Regions from separate parts of the Homo sapiens genome. Here all the other regions are linked to region 2. Evidence: promoter capture Hi-C in 16 types of primary human blood cells and fetal thymus (Javierre and others, 2016). All regions are on one chromosome and are shown on one strand. The core of a region is centred on a gene start or on the middle of the fragment in contact, and the rest is flanking DNA. Distances in the headings are between cores, read along the strand shown.

Region 1 (4,135 bases), core at 451-2,950, 210 kb before region 2:
TGACAAAAACCCAGGTCATAAAATACATAAATTTGACAACAAAAAATTTCCACACAGAAACAAAAACGGCAACAAGTTTGAACAAATTGAGCAAAAATATTTGAAATGCATAATTCAAAGAGCCAATTTTCTTCATTTATGAAGAGTTCCTAAATGAAATTTTAAAATTCCCAAGAACTCAACAGAAATCACGCAAAAGCTAAAAGAGTTCACAGATAAATACAAATGGCTCACAAATTTATAGAAAGATGTTCTCCCATAATAAGAAATTTAAATTAAAACTATGAGGTGTCATTTCACTTCTCAGATATTGGCAAAGTACAGAAAGTTGGGAAAACACCCTGTGTTGGTGAGGATATGAGGAAATTGGCATTTTCATACATTGCTGGTAGGAATGTAAATAAGAATCACTTCTACGCAGGGCAACATCTATCAACATTTTCAGTCAAATATCCTTTTGCCAGCAAATCTAATTCTAAGACATTATCCCAGAGAAGTATTCCCATATGTCGAAATGACATATGTGCAAGGATATTTGTTGTACATTGTTTGCAACAACAAAAGATTAGAAACTACCTAAATATACATTAATGGAGACTTGTTGAGTTATAATCTATCCATACAATGGTACACTCTGTAGCTGTGAAAAAGCAGGAAGCAGCTCTATTTGTGCTGATGTAATTATTAAGAAATATTGTTTGCTCAAAAAGCAAGAGGCACTCAATATTCCTTTCTGGAATTGCCTCTCATCAATTCCTTTTATTTGTTCCTAAACATCCAAGTCTTCAGAATGCATCCAAGCTTGTTATTCTCCTTCATGATTATCACCTTTCTCCCAGGTGGTTTTCTCTGACCAAAATGCTACTTTTTGCCCCCACCTTCTTTTTTGGGGGAGTACCTAGTCCTCCTTTAAACTCAGCACAGTGTCATTGCCTCCAGGAAGCCTTTCCTGACCTGTGATTTAAGATCCTCTTTTGATGCTGTGGTCCTCGTTCAGACGACATACTCAGTGTGGCTTACCACACTGCACTGTAACTGTCTGGTTATTGGCTACCTCCCCCATTTGCTGTGAGCTCCTTGAGAAAAGGAACCTTGTCTGCCTTATGTCTGTATGAGCTACGCCCAGCACCAGGACTGGCAAAGTTTAGATGCTCTGTAAATGGATAGATGGATGGATGAATGAATGACATAGATAATCTACTCCCCACCATAGCGTGGATGATCTTTTAGAAATGAAAATTGGGGGCCGGCTGCAGTGGCTTATGCCTGTAATCCCAACACTTTGAGAAGCCGAGGTGGGCAGATCACCTGAAGCCAGGAGTTTGAGACCAGGCAGGCCAGCATATAGTGAAACCCCATCTCTACTAAAAATACGAAAATTAGCTGGGTGTTGTGGCACATGCCTGTAGTCCCAGCTACTTGGGAAGCTGAGGCAGGAGAATTGCTTGAACCTGGGAGGCAGATCATGCTACTGCACTCCAGCCTGGGTGACAGAGTGAGACTCTGTCTCTCAAAAAAAAAAAAAAAAAAAAAAAAGTAAATTGGATCATATCACTCCCTTACATAAAAACTTCAAATGCACATAAATAAAACTCAAACTCCTAAGAAAGAAAAAGAAAGCAAGGGAAAGAATAGCGTGTTTAGAATGGTGTCATTTGCAGGCTTGAGAAAGAACAAACATGGCAGGGTGGAGGGAGATGTTCTCACTATACACCCCATGTACCTCTTGGCTTCTAAAATATATGCATAGAAGTACAACAATATTTTATTCCTTCCTGTATTTCCAAAATGTTCTAAAATGAGCATGTACTTCTTGTTGTAATCATTTAGAGAAAACCTCAAAAATAAAGGACTTAATTTCCACGTAGTCTTTGGAGTTAGCTCCTCATTGTTTTAAAGCTATGTTTCTTCGTCTCTCGCTTTGGTGTTCCAAATGAACAGTTTGAAAAATAGCAAGCCTCATTGCTCCCTTTAAAAATGCACACCAATTTTCTTTGCTTGGATCTAATAATCACTAAATTTTCTTCCTATTTTAACATTTATTGTTTACGTCAGCGGCTCTTAATCTTTATTGTGCCAGAGATCACACCTGGGAGGCTGTTAAAATGCAGATTCTCAGGATTCTACCCTCAGACATTCTGAGTCAGTGGGGGCCCTGGAATCTGCATTTTAACATTACTACAGGAGATTCCTATGCAGGTGCGTGGTCTATAGACCATACTTTTCAAAACGTTCATCCATGACTTGTTAAGGAAAGAGTATTTTTCACATAGAAGTGAAAATCCTATATAGTATAGAATTTAGGACTGCAAGTGATCTCTCCCTTGAACACACACACACACACCTTACACCTTTATAAACATTCACATTATGTCCTGTACTTTATAATACAGTTTGTGTGCACTCATCTTGTCTTCTCTCTCAGATTTTTGAGAATGGGATCCAAGTCTTTATGTAGCCTAGTGCTCCAAAGTTGTGAAATAAAATTATGTGTGATAGAAACCAAAGCATATGGTTCAAAAGTTACTTTCTTTGGCTTAGGGAGTTGGTTTTCTCTGCCAACTATGTAAATTCTTAGTCATTCCACCTCCCCTTCCCGCAAAGCTTAGCTATGTGCAAGCAACTGTAACACTGCCTGCTAAGTCTAGAGAGGGGCTGCTGTTTTATTTTTAAATACATATATAAATCACTTCTGGTAGCTTTCTATGCCTTTCCCAGGACCTCTGATGGGCCCTTTCCTCTGTGAGTTTTAAACTGAAAAAAACATCTGAAAAAGCAGCACAAGCGGTTGAGATAAACATCCCAGAGGGTTTTCCACATTACGTAAATTTTCAAGTGTGATGTGAAGGGACCCGTGAGGTATAGTGGCAGCTCTACGCCACCGCCTGGCGGCAACATGCTTCATGACATCCCAACCCCACCCCTGCATCCCCGGGCTCTTAGGGACGCTCATCCTATGCAGGAGCTCATATGTGTGTGTCCCCAGCAGCGCCAAATCCAGGGCATCTACAAATATTTGCTGGTATGAGTGGCAGGAACTAAAAACACACAGCTCGAATTTTGATGTCTTCTGCCCAACTGAGGGTCACTGGTTCTTTCAATTCTGTAACTTTCTAAGATTTTGCAGCACAGAGCTTTTTGATTGACGCACAGATCAGTCAAAAGGCAAATGTGAAAGACAGCCTATACTCAAAGCATAACTCTAATAGCACAAAATACACATGCCTAAGTCATCACTGGCAAAGCTCCAAAGCTTTTGAGAAAGATCATTATACCCATCCACAGGGCCACTCACCCCCACCCAAACCTGAAACACTTAGAATAGGTCAGGGCTAGCATGAAAGTGATTGAGTCCCAGAGGTATAGCTCAATGACTTGGCCTAAAGAGCAGAGAGAAAAGAGAACTGAGTAAAGGTTTACCAGTGTGAAGGATGCTCACATAGGCCTCCAGGGACTCCACATCCACTGAGATTAGGAGACAAAATAACCCCAGATGGCGGGGATGGGGGTGGCAAAAGTTCTTTCAGTAAACATAAAGAACTTCCTAGGAAGTACCTGGAATCTTCTTTAGGGGTTCACTAGAAACAAATTATCTTTAGTTGGGAATAAATGATGGCCCTGCCCAAGGTTGGGGGTGGGGAACACACTTGATGGTATTTTGGGGTCCCTTCCAACTTTAGATGTAGAGTCTTGTTGAACAGTCCCTATCAATAGGCAAGATGGGATAATGTGAATAAAAGCAAAAACCAAGTTACTTGTTAGACTTGGACACAAACGACTTCACTCGTGTATAAAGCTATCACAGTGACTGCATCTACCTCTGGGATTTCAAGTTCCCTGATGACAGAAGAATCCTTTAATGGAAGCTGCATGCTGGGTTAATGGTCAGGCTGTGAGTGGAAATTCTGAGATCAATAGGCCTAAATTCGGAAAATCAAGGCTGCACCTAAAACCTAATGGTCTGATCAGAGCACCAAATACTTATTGTTCTTTCTTCTTCTCCCTGCCAGGCCATTAATTGATTCACACACTATTTTTCCTAGAAGTTAATGCCATCATTACATGCACCTTTGGTAAGAGGTTAGAAGTGACAAATTGTTCACAGAAAATCTCATGCAAGATGGGTTTGAGGCAA
Region 2 (4,309 bases), core at 1,810-4,309:
GTGTGGTGCTTTTAGGGGACGTGACCACAAGAGACATGACCCCAGCCCTCAGTGGTACATAGATAAACCTAATTAACTCTAATATGATGCAGTCAATGTCACTTTGGGCATTAAGGAGGAAGTGCAGCTACACAATCCTGGGCAAGGTGCTCAACTTCTCTCTGTGCCTCAGTTTCCTTACCTGTATAATGGTAATACAAATAGTACCTACTTCATAGAGTTGTTGTGTTAAATAAGGTATTATGTGTAGACTTAGTACCTGGCACATGGTGTTAGCAGTTGCTATATTGCCTATATGCATTATATAGGCATATAATGTTGTAGGACTCTGGGGAAGAAGGATGTTCATTCTCATTTGGGTAGGAGCAGAGGCCTCATGGAGAATGGGATGTTTTAGCTGGGCCTTTGAGGGTCAGGTAGGATTGCTTCTGGTGGAAGGATGTTTAGGTAGATGGGACAGCAGTGCAGAAGGTGGGAGGTGAGACTGCCTGGGACCTAGATTAGGGAGACTGGTAAGAAGTGATTGAGGCCAAGCTGTGCTTGGCTTTGCCATGCCAGGGATGAAGTCGCAGGTATCAGCCAAGGTCACTGAGCAAAGGGGAAGTAGGATCAGGTTTGTGTGCTCTGTGGCAGCTGGCAGTATAGAAAGGGTTGACCAGAGGGGAGAGACTCCTGCAGAAGTGAGTGATAGACGGGCCCTGGCCTGTCTCCTGGCACAGGTGGTCCAGGAGGAACAGAGAGGAGATATTCAGAAGCCCAGGCCTCTGGCCCTATTTAGTATGGGCAGTAAAGGAGATGTTGCAGAGGATTGTGAGGGTGTGTGGACATGGGGCAGACAATCGAGATTTAGGACAGGTGGAGAAGCAGGGCTGGGAGGAGGAGGACCACTTGCTCTTGGCCTTGAGGAATTTCAGAAGTTGCATGTCCACATCTGGTGCTCAGAAAGATCTGGGCTGGATACCACATCCTTATTCCTGGAGTTGGCTGAAGCCACAGGAGTGTTGAGGAAGGGGGTGAGGTGGGGGTGGAGGGAGTTGAAGGGAAAGCCCAAAGAGATGACAGCCTGGCTGGGAATCTTGGGAAGCACCCACATCCACAGGTCCACACTGAGGCAGTATTTATGCTGGTTAACAGCTCCAGCTCCTGGCTATGTAGCCATGCATTCGTATGTAACCTCTCTGAGCCTGTTTCTTCACCTCTGAAACAGGATGATAAAAACAGTACCCACCTGTGAGGGTGAAACAGGATGATAAAAACAGTACCCACCTGTGAGGGAGGTGAGACAAATGAATACGGGTAAAGTACCAGCAACAGTGCTTGGCACACGATAAGTGCTGCACAGAGGCATTTACTGTTATTATAATCACCATCATAGCCATCTCCCTGGGCCCAGGCTGCTTGTAGTCGAAGTTCACCACCTTTGCAAGGGTAATGGCAGGCAGCCTCAGCACCAGGACCCAGCAGTCGGGCTGTATTTGCAGAAGTCCGCAGGTGGGGAGCTGGAGGAATCACTTTAGGTCCTTAGTAGAGATAGGCCTGGCCCTGGCTACCTCCTGACCTCACCGAATCGGCCTAGTCCGAGGGTTCAGAACACCACTTCCGCTCCGCGCTGGGTCCCTTCCCACCCTGGCACGGTTCCCTGCCACCTTCCGGGGATTGGCTTTGGACTGGAGACTCTGGACGGATAAGCCACCAGGACTGCAAGACGGGGATTCTGGGCTGGCGCGCAGCTGTCTGGACTCTGGGCTCTTGGACGAAGGGGTGGGGAACCAAGCCAGGACCCAGGACATCAATGCCTCCGCCAAATCGAGCAGCTGCCAGTCTGGCGTCGCTTCAGTCCTAAGATGCGCCACCCCTAGAACCCTCCCCGGCCTCCTCCGCCCTGCTAGGCCCCACCCTTGAGGAGCCTCTGCTCAGATTTACCTCTGAGTCCTCCCCTGAACCCTGCCTTCAGCCTTTCTGGGCAGCCGCGCGGCGGCGGCGCGCCCAGTCCTTGTGTCCGAAGACTCGGAGTAAAGCGGGTTCAGCCAGAGAGCGGCCCTGCGTCCGCCCTCCTCTCGAACCCGGGTCTGCGCACGTCGAGCCCCCTCTCTGCGTTGAGGGTGGCCCCGACCAGCACGCCTCGGGCCCAATCCACCCACCCTCCGGGACAAACGCGCCTTCCCCCAGGCTCCTACGGCCGCGCCCTCGCTCCTGCGCATCCTTAGACCCGGCGCCCCTGCCGTCCCAGCTCCCAGTTCGCAAACGTGCGCCCGGGTTCCCCCTCTGGAAGCGGCCAGGTGTGGCGTTTAGCTCTTTGCCACGGGTGCGGGTGCGACCAACCCCCAAGCAGGCTCAAACGCGCCCTTTCCCGGGTCAGGCCGGGCGGGGCCGGTTACGCGCGCGCCCCCTGCCGTAGTCGTCCTCGCCCCCAAATTTGGATGTGTCCCCAGGCATCTGCCTCCTCACCGGGCCAGCATGCCCTCTCGCCCCCAAGTAGGACTCAGCCCGGCTTCTCGCAGTCCTCTCGCTAGGGCGAGGGTCTTTTCCTCCGAGGTCCCCCAACCCTCTGGTCCCCGCGCAGGAACGCCCACCCCCGTTGTGCCCGCGTCTGCGTTCCCGACGTTTCCCTGAACAGGAAACACCTGACCAGGGCCTGAATAGGCCCCCTCGCCCTCGGCCCGTACACCCCGCGGCCCGCTACCCCATCCCGCCGCGCCCAGGCCGACGCCGCTCGCCCCTGACCCGGATCAGCGAGTCCAGCGCCGGGCGGTCCAGACACGTGAAGTTCTGCAACAGCTCCCACTTGTCGCGCTGGAAGCTGCGGCTGGAGTCCTGCGCCGCGCGGCCCTCCAGCGTCCAGAACACGCCGGTGCCCAGCGCCAGGTAAGCCAGGTAGGCGAGCAGCAGGAGCACGGTGCTGGGCACCGCGCAGCCCCGGACCCTGCCCTCGGGAGCCGCCCGGGCTCGCGGTCGGTACATAGCGGGAGAGGCGGGGAGCCGGCGCCGGGAGCGGTGGACTAGGACCCGGTGGGAGGGAAGGGCCAGGCGTCCAGCTCGTATCTCCTCTCGCAAACGCCTGCTGGTGCCCGGTTTCGCCGGGGAGGAGGAGTGTTGGGGAATGGGACAGCCTGGCCCCACCCAGCCCTGGGATCCAATCCCCGGGACAAAAAGAGGCTCTGAACTGTGGGCATCTGGCCCCGCCTCAAATGTGTGCGGGGTGCCCACCTGCTAGGCCTAGGCCAGGGAGAAGGAGGAAGCTGCTGGGTGACCGCAGGCGCTGAGGGAAGGGGCCCAGAGCCCCCTCACATTTCCTGAAATGAACAATGGGAGGGACTTCTGGAAACCGCACTCAGAGGTAGGAGATAGTAGAGACCAACTTTATTGTCTTGGGGCCCCTGCCTAAGTTCTTGGACTCGGGGGCTATCTCCAAGGACTTGCTGTCTGTCAATCTCAAGACCACCTTGGGTCTCCCACACCTCTGTCCTTTCCTTTGTACCCCAAAAGAGGGACCCCAGCTGATTGCCACTTGTCCATGAGCTTGGGAGGTAAGAGGAGCCTTAACCAAGAGGCTTGTCCACTCCTTGCTTCTGAGAAGGCCCCCGAAATCCCTCTACCTGGAGTGGAGGAAGCGTCTAGGCTGTGTGAAGAGTCCGTGGGTCCTCAGCTTCCCAGTCCTTTCTTGGATATGGGGAAGTCCTGGGGTGTGACTTGGACTCCTCTTGCTGCTGTAGAGCCTCTCCTGGGTCTCCTGCCTGGAGCCGCCTTGGCTCCACAGCCTTGCCTCAGACCTGTGCAGAGGAACCCAGCCACATAGGAGCCCACTTGCTGTTGGATGATGGGAGAGGCAAAGGCCAAAATTTCCAGGCCCCGGGATGGAGTGGTCTAAATCTCTCCTGGTCAGGGATGTTGCAGTCTGGCAGGGGAAAGGCCAGACCTGGAGAATGCATTCCTGAGAGAGGCCAGACGTTCATGGAGCTCACTTTCTGGAAGGATCCTGGGATCTGCTGGCTCTCTGGCTTCCCATGGGGTGTTTGGAAAGGCTCTTGAGAAGGCAGGAGCCCAGAGGGAGTGATGAAGTTAAGGGGGTGGCCTGTGAGGGTCAGGGGAGGCCATGTTCAGGAAAGTGGGTAGGACACCCAAGAGGTCCTAAGCTTTGTTCACAGACAGCCCTGGACTTCTAGGCAAGGGGAGCTGGCGAGCTTTGAGAGGCAGCTCGCCTGCCCCTCGGCTGAGAGCTTCCTGAGGGCAGAGATCCTCTTTTCACTAAGATTGTTCCAAAGTCTCTGCCCAGGTCTCCCCTCTCTTTGATGCTCCCTGCCAGCCATTC
Region 3 (4,275 bases), core at 1,584-4,083, 190 kb before region 2:
GAGTGCCCTGGCGATTATAATTCACTGCAGTCTTGAACTCCTGGGCTCAAGCAATCCTCTGTCTGAACCTCTCAAGTAGCTGGGACTACAGGTGTGCATCACCATGCCTGGCTATTTTTTTTTTTTCTTGTAGAGACTAGTTTTTGCTATGTTGTCCGGGCTGGTCTGGAACTGTTAGCCTCAAGCTATCTTCCCACCTTGGCTCCCAGAGTGCTGGGATTACAGCCACTATGTAAGCCATTGCACCCAGCCCTGATGGCTTCTACAAGCACCTGGGGGCTTTCTCTGGCTGCAGGAGTGTGTTCAACTAGTACATGAGGCAAATTAGTAGTGGTGGGAGACTATTCCTCTCCAACCCTGAAAAAGTCTTCAACCAATTTTAGATGGGAGTTGGTGGATAAATACCCTAGCTCCCTCACTCCTTATGGGGGATGATTCTGATGTGTGTTCCCCAGAGTCTCCCAAGAGTCTTCGGTAGGAATGAGCCTCAGTTGCCCACAGCTCATTAACACACCCTATATCACCTTTCTTCCCTTTCCTGTCTCACTTCCCTGCTGCCCTATCAGTGCTCCCTAGAATCACTTTCCCAGTAAACTTCTTACATTTGAATCTTTAGCTCAGGATTTTCTACCAAGAGAATCTAAGAGCTATGCAAGACCTAAGCCTATGGACTTGCCTGAGAAAAGGGAAGTAAACTAGAGGGATGGTTGGTATTTCACATTTACAAAACCCCTACCTTGATGTTTGAAGCAAGCAAAACAGGACTTTAGACTGTCACCAAAGAAGATATTTGGAAATGGTAATAAAGAAGTTAAGAGAGAGGATGGGAAGCAGAGGGCTATAGTGCTTCAACTGAAGCAGCCTGCTTTGCACTGCTGCTGCTGGACTGCTGCTGGCAAGGTTTTTTAGCTCTCACTTTATCTTGAACTCTGCAGAGGTCAGAGTCCTAGAATAACTGATTCAGTCATTCTATGAGTCTGTCCTCCAAGGAATTTAGAGACCATTTAGTCAGCAAATATTGATGGAACACCTGTTATATGCCAGGCCCTGGACCAGGCTTTGAGGATGCAGACATGAATAAAATACAGTCCTACTGTTAGGAATTCAAGGTATAGTTAGAGAGACAGACTCACTGATAGACAGTTATAACACAGAGGTCTGGGGAACAGAGGAGGGGCACTAACTCAAGCTGGGAGTTCTTCAGATTCAAATATGGGGAAACTGAGGCCCAGAGAGGGAAAGCTGATGAGATGATATAATTCATGGGCATTGCTATAGACATTAAATATTTCTGGTGATAGTTTGATGCTTTATAATTATCTTTTGCATGAAAGGTAATGGTTCATGACCCTTCTGCCCCCACTTACTCTTGGCTTTGTGGTTACAACTGCTTTTCCTGACACTTATTGCTGGCTTGAACTTTGCCTTTTTGTAACCCCCCCGTGACTGGGATCTTGTGTTCTGAAAGAGCTCAACAGTCTCTACTATTTGTCCCCATCAGTCTGCCCAATCCTATTACCTGAAGCTTCTCCATTTTCCTCCTCTACATCTCAACTCCCTGTAAATTCCAAGATCTTAGGTTTTGACAATTTCCTAACCACCTGACTTGCCTTATGTCCAAGTTCCATTGTGCTTAGCTCTGATACTCAGAGAAATGCCTCCTGTGGCCTGCAGAACAGATGACCTAAAGCTCACAGGCTTGCAACAAAAATGATCTATATGTAAATCCCATCCCAAAACTCTCCCCCAAACTAACTGAAAGTAGTTGGAGAAGAATCTCTTTGCAGGTTGACAATGCACCTGAAGAAAACCATAGGAATTGTGTGTTTTATAAGAGCCTGCTTCCTCATGATTTTGTATGGGAATAAAGTCAGAAGGAAGGCAAGCTTTTGTCCTATAAAGTCCTTGGAAGAAATGGGCCATTTCACTAAAATACATGTACATACATCCAGAGAAGTATATTTCCTGACTCGAAAAATATCGCCTGCTTAGCCACCTCCTTGGAAGCTCCTGCTTCAGCCTTACATTTCTCTTCAACCATTGACCTTCTAGAGTCTTGACTAAACACCAGGGTTTAGGGCCCAAATATATATATATACACACACATATATATATATTTTAACCTTGAGAACCAGTTGAGTCATTCACTATTAACAACAAATTGGGCTCCTAATAATATCTGGCCTTTGTGGAGTGATTAATGTGTGCCAGACACTGTGCTGACCACTTGAAAATTATTATGTACTTTAATTTTCTCAACAACTCTTCAGGAAGGCATGTGAGCAGATTCCATAGTTTGATGTCACACAGCAAGCAACTAGCAGGACCAGGTTTTGAACCCAGGGAGTCTGACTCCAGAGCAGAGCCCAGGAACCCACTATCCTGTCTATTCTATGTGCAGATCAGTTTCAAGGTTCTGGGAAGACAAACAGGTATAAGTTGTGGTCCTCGAGTTCCAGAAAAACTTATGAAATCATGGAGAAGATGAAACAAGAATGCAAAATGAGAAATAATGCCAGAAACTATTGCTAAGTGTCTTATCAGTGGGACAGACAGAGCAGGAACTTACCAGGTAGAGGAAGAGATCAGTGAGGCAGGGGAGGTCTAAACGACTCCACGGAGAAGCATGGTATTTGGCCTTGAAAGATTGAAAGGACTTAGGTAAGCTGAGAGGAAGAAGTCAACCAAGATAAGAGGACTTTGCACACATGGGTTCAAGTCCCAGCTCTGACGTTATCTACACAATCATAGGAAAGTCACTCATTCTCCTTATTGTTCTATTTCCTTTTTGTAAAGAGAGAATCTCAGGGAAGTGGTATGGAGTAAGAGAGAAAGTACAAATTTGGAACCTGGCTTCAGAGAGGTGGGGAGGGAGGAGTTAATGATTTGGTGAGGGGGGTTTACAAAGTTCTAGTTCTTGACCTAAATAGTGGTTCCATGAGTAAAAATCAACATCCAGGCTAGGCGCGGTGGCTGACGCCTGTAATCCCAGCACTTTGGGAGGCTAAGGTGGGCAGATAACCTGAGGTCAGGAGTTCAAGACAGCCTGGCAAACATGGTGAAACCCCATCTCCACTAAAAATACAAAAATTAGCCAGGTGTGGTGGTGCGTGCCTGTAATCCCAGCTACTCGGGAGGCTGAGGCAGGAGAATCGCTTGAACCTGGGAGACAGAGGTGGCAGTGAGCTGAGATCATGCCACTGCACTCCAGCCTGGGTGACAGAGTAAGACTCTGTCTCAAAAACAAACAAACAAACAAACAAACAAGCAAACAAACAAACAAAAAAACAGGCCAGGCACGGCGGCTCATGCCTGTAATCCCAGCACTTTGGGAGGCCAAGGCAGGCAGATCACCTGAGGTCAGGAGTTCGAGACCAGCCTGGCCAACATGGCAAAACCCCGTCTCTACTAAAAATACAAAAATTAGCTGGTTGTGGTGGGGGGTGCACCTGTAATCCCAGCTACTCAGGAGGCTGAGGCAGGAGAATTGCTTGAACCTGGGAGGCGGAGGTTGCAGTGAGCTGAGATCATACCACTGCACTCCAGCCTGGGCAACAAGAGTGAGACTCCATCTCAAAACAAAAACAAAACAACAACAACAACAACAACCACCACCAAAAACCAACATCCATAAGTGATAACCCATCAAACAGTAAAAGTAAGTACTTAAGTAGCTTCTAATTTTTATTTGTCTGTTTCTTTATTTATAAATGGGGATGATACCTCACAAGAAGACTGATAGAATGAGGTGACCTGATGGGGAGTACCTAGCAGTACACAGGAAGCTTAAAAGGTATGAAACCGGCATAGTCCAAGCTCAGTAGATGACCAAAGTCCTGGGAAGACACAGCGGGAGGAAAAGAAGATCCTCCTATCCCAAAGGAATTGGAATGCATATTGAGAATTGGTGCCTTAATAGGCTTTTAAATTAGGGAAGACACTATTCATCTGAGCTAGTTGAAATTGTTTCCATATTAAAAAAAAAACAACTGATGGGATGGCTTCCTCGCCTGCTTTCTCCCCTGTCTCCCATCACTCTTTTGGGATTATTTGAACCAAAATAAACCTCTTTTTCCAATTATCTTAATAGGGCTTGGGTTAAATATACGCAGTCATTGATATAACTTTGAAGGGGTATTGAGAAGCCTGTCAGCCAGGCTCCCACAGTCTCCACAGTCTATAGGAGACACAGGGATTTCTGTCTACCTCAGAAGAAATCCAGCTGGTCAGGACAATGGACTAAGCCCCTCTGTGAATCTGAGTTCTTCATTAGGA

What was found. Contacts are between HindIII fragments. The CHiCAGO score rates a contact against its expected background, and 5 or more counts as called.
Region 1: a fragment that was not itself captured here is called in contact with the fragment with the promoter of KCNK17 in region 2 in 2 of 17 cell types (activated CD4 T cells and megakaryocytes); the score reaches 5.4 in activated CD4 T cells.
Region 3: a contact is called between a fragment that was not itself captured here and the fragment with the promoter of KCNK17 in region 2, in 2 of 17 cell types (megakaryocytes and monocytes). The highest score is 5.2, in megakaryocytes.

Annotation. Positions count from the first base shown.
Region 1 is chr6:39,099,581-39,103,715 of GRCh38, forward strand. No RefSeq gene overlaps it. Among named protein-coding and RNA genes, the nearest start is that of SAYSD1, 14 kb to the right of the region's middle. The HindIII fragment of the contact is 1,803 bases long and covers 800-2,602 here.
Region 2 is chr6:39,311,360-39,315,668 of GRCh38, forward strand. It overlaps KCNK17 (potassium two pore domain channel subfamily K member 17), which reads right to left and starts at 3,060. Exons shown (of 5, transcript NM_031460.4): 1 at 2,725-3,060. The coding sequence starts at 2,961. It overlaps LOC105375047 (a long non-coding RNA gene), which reads left to right and starts at 2,597. Exons shown (of 3, transcript XR_926774.3): 1 at 2,597-2,865. It also overlaps a transcript of KCNK16 not described here. The HindIII fragment of the contact is 16,119 bases long and covers 1-4,131 here.
Region 3 is chr6:39,123,362-39,127,636 of GRCh38, forward strand. No RefSeq gene overlaps it. Among named protein-coding and RNA genes, the nearest start is that of SAYSD1, 10 kb to the left of the region's middle. The HindIII fragment of the contact is 1,899 bases long and covers 1,885-3,783 here.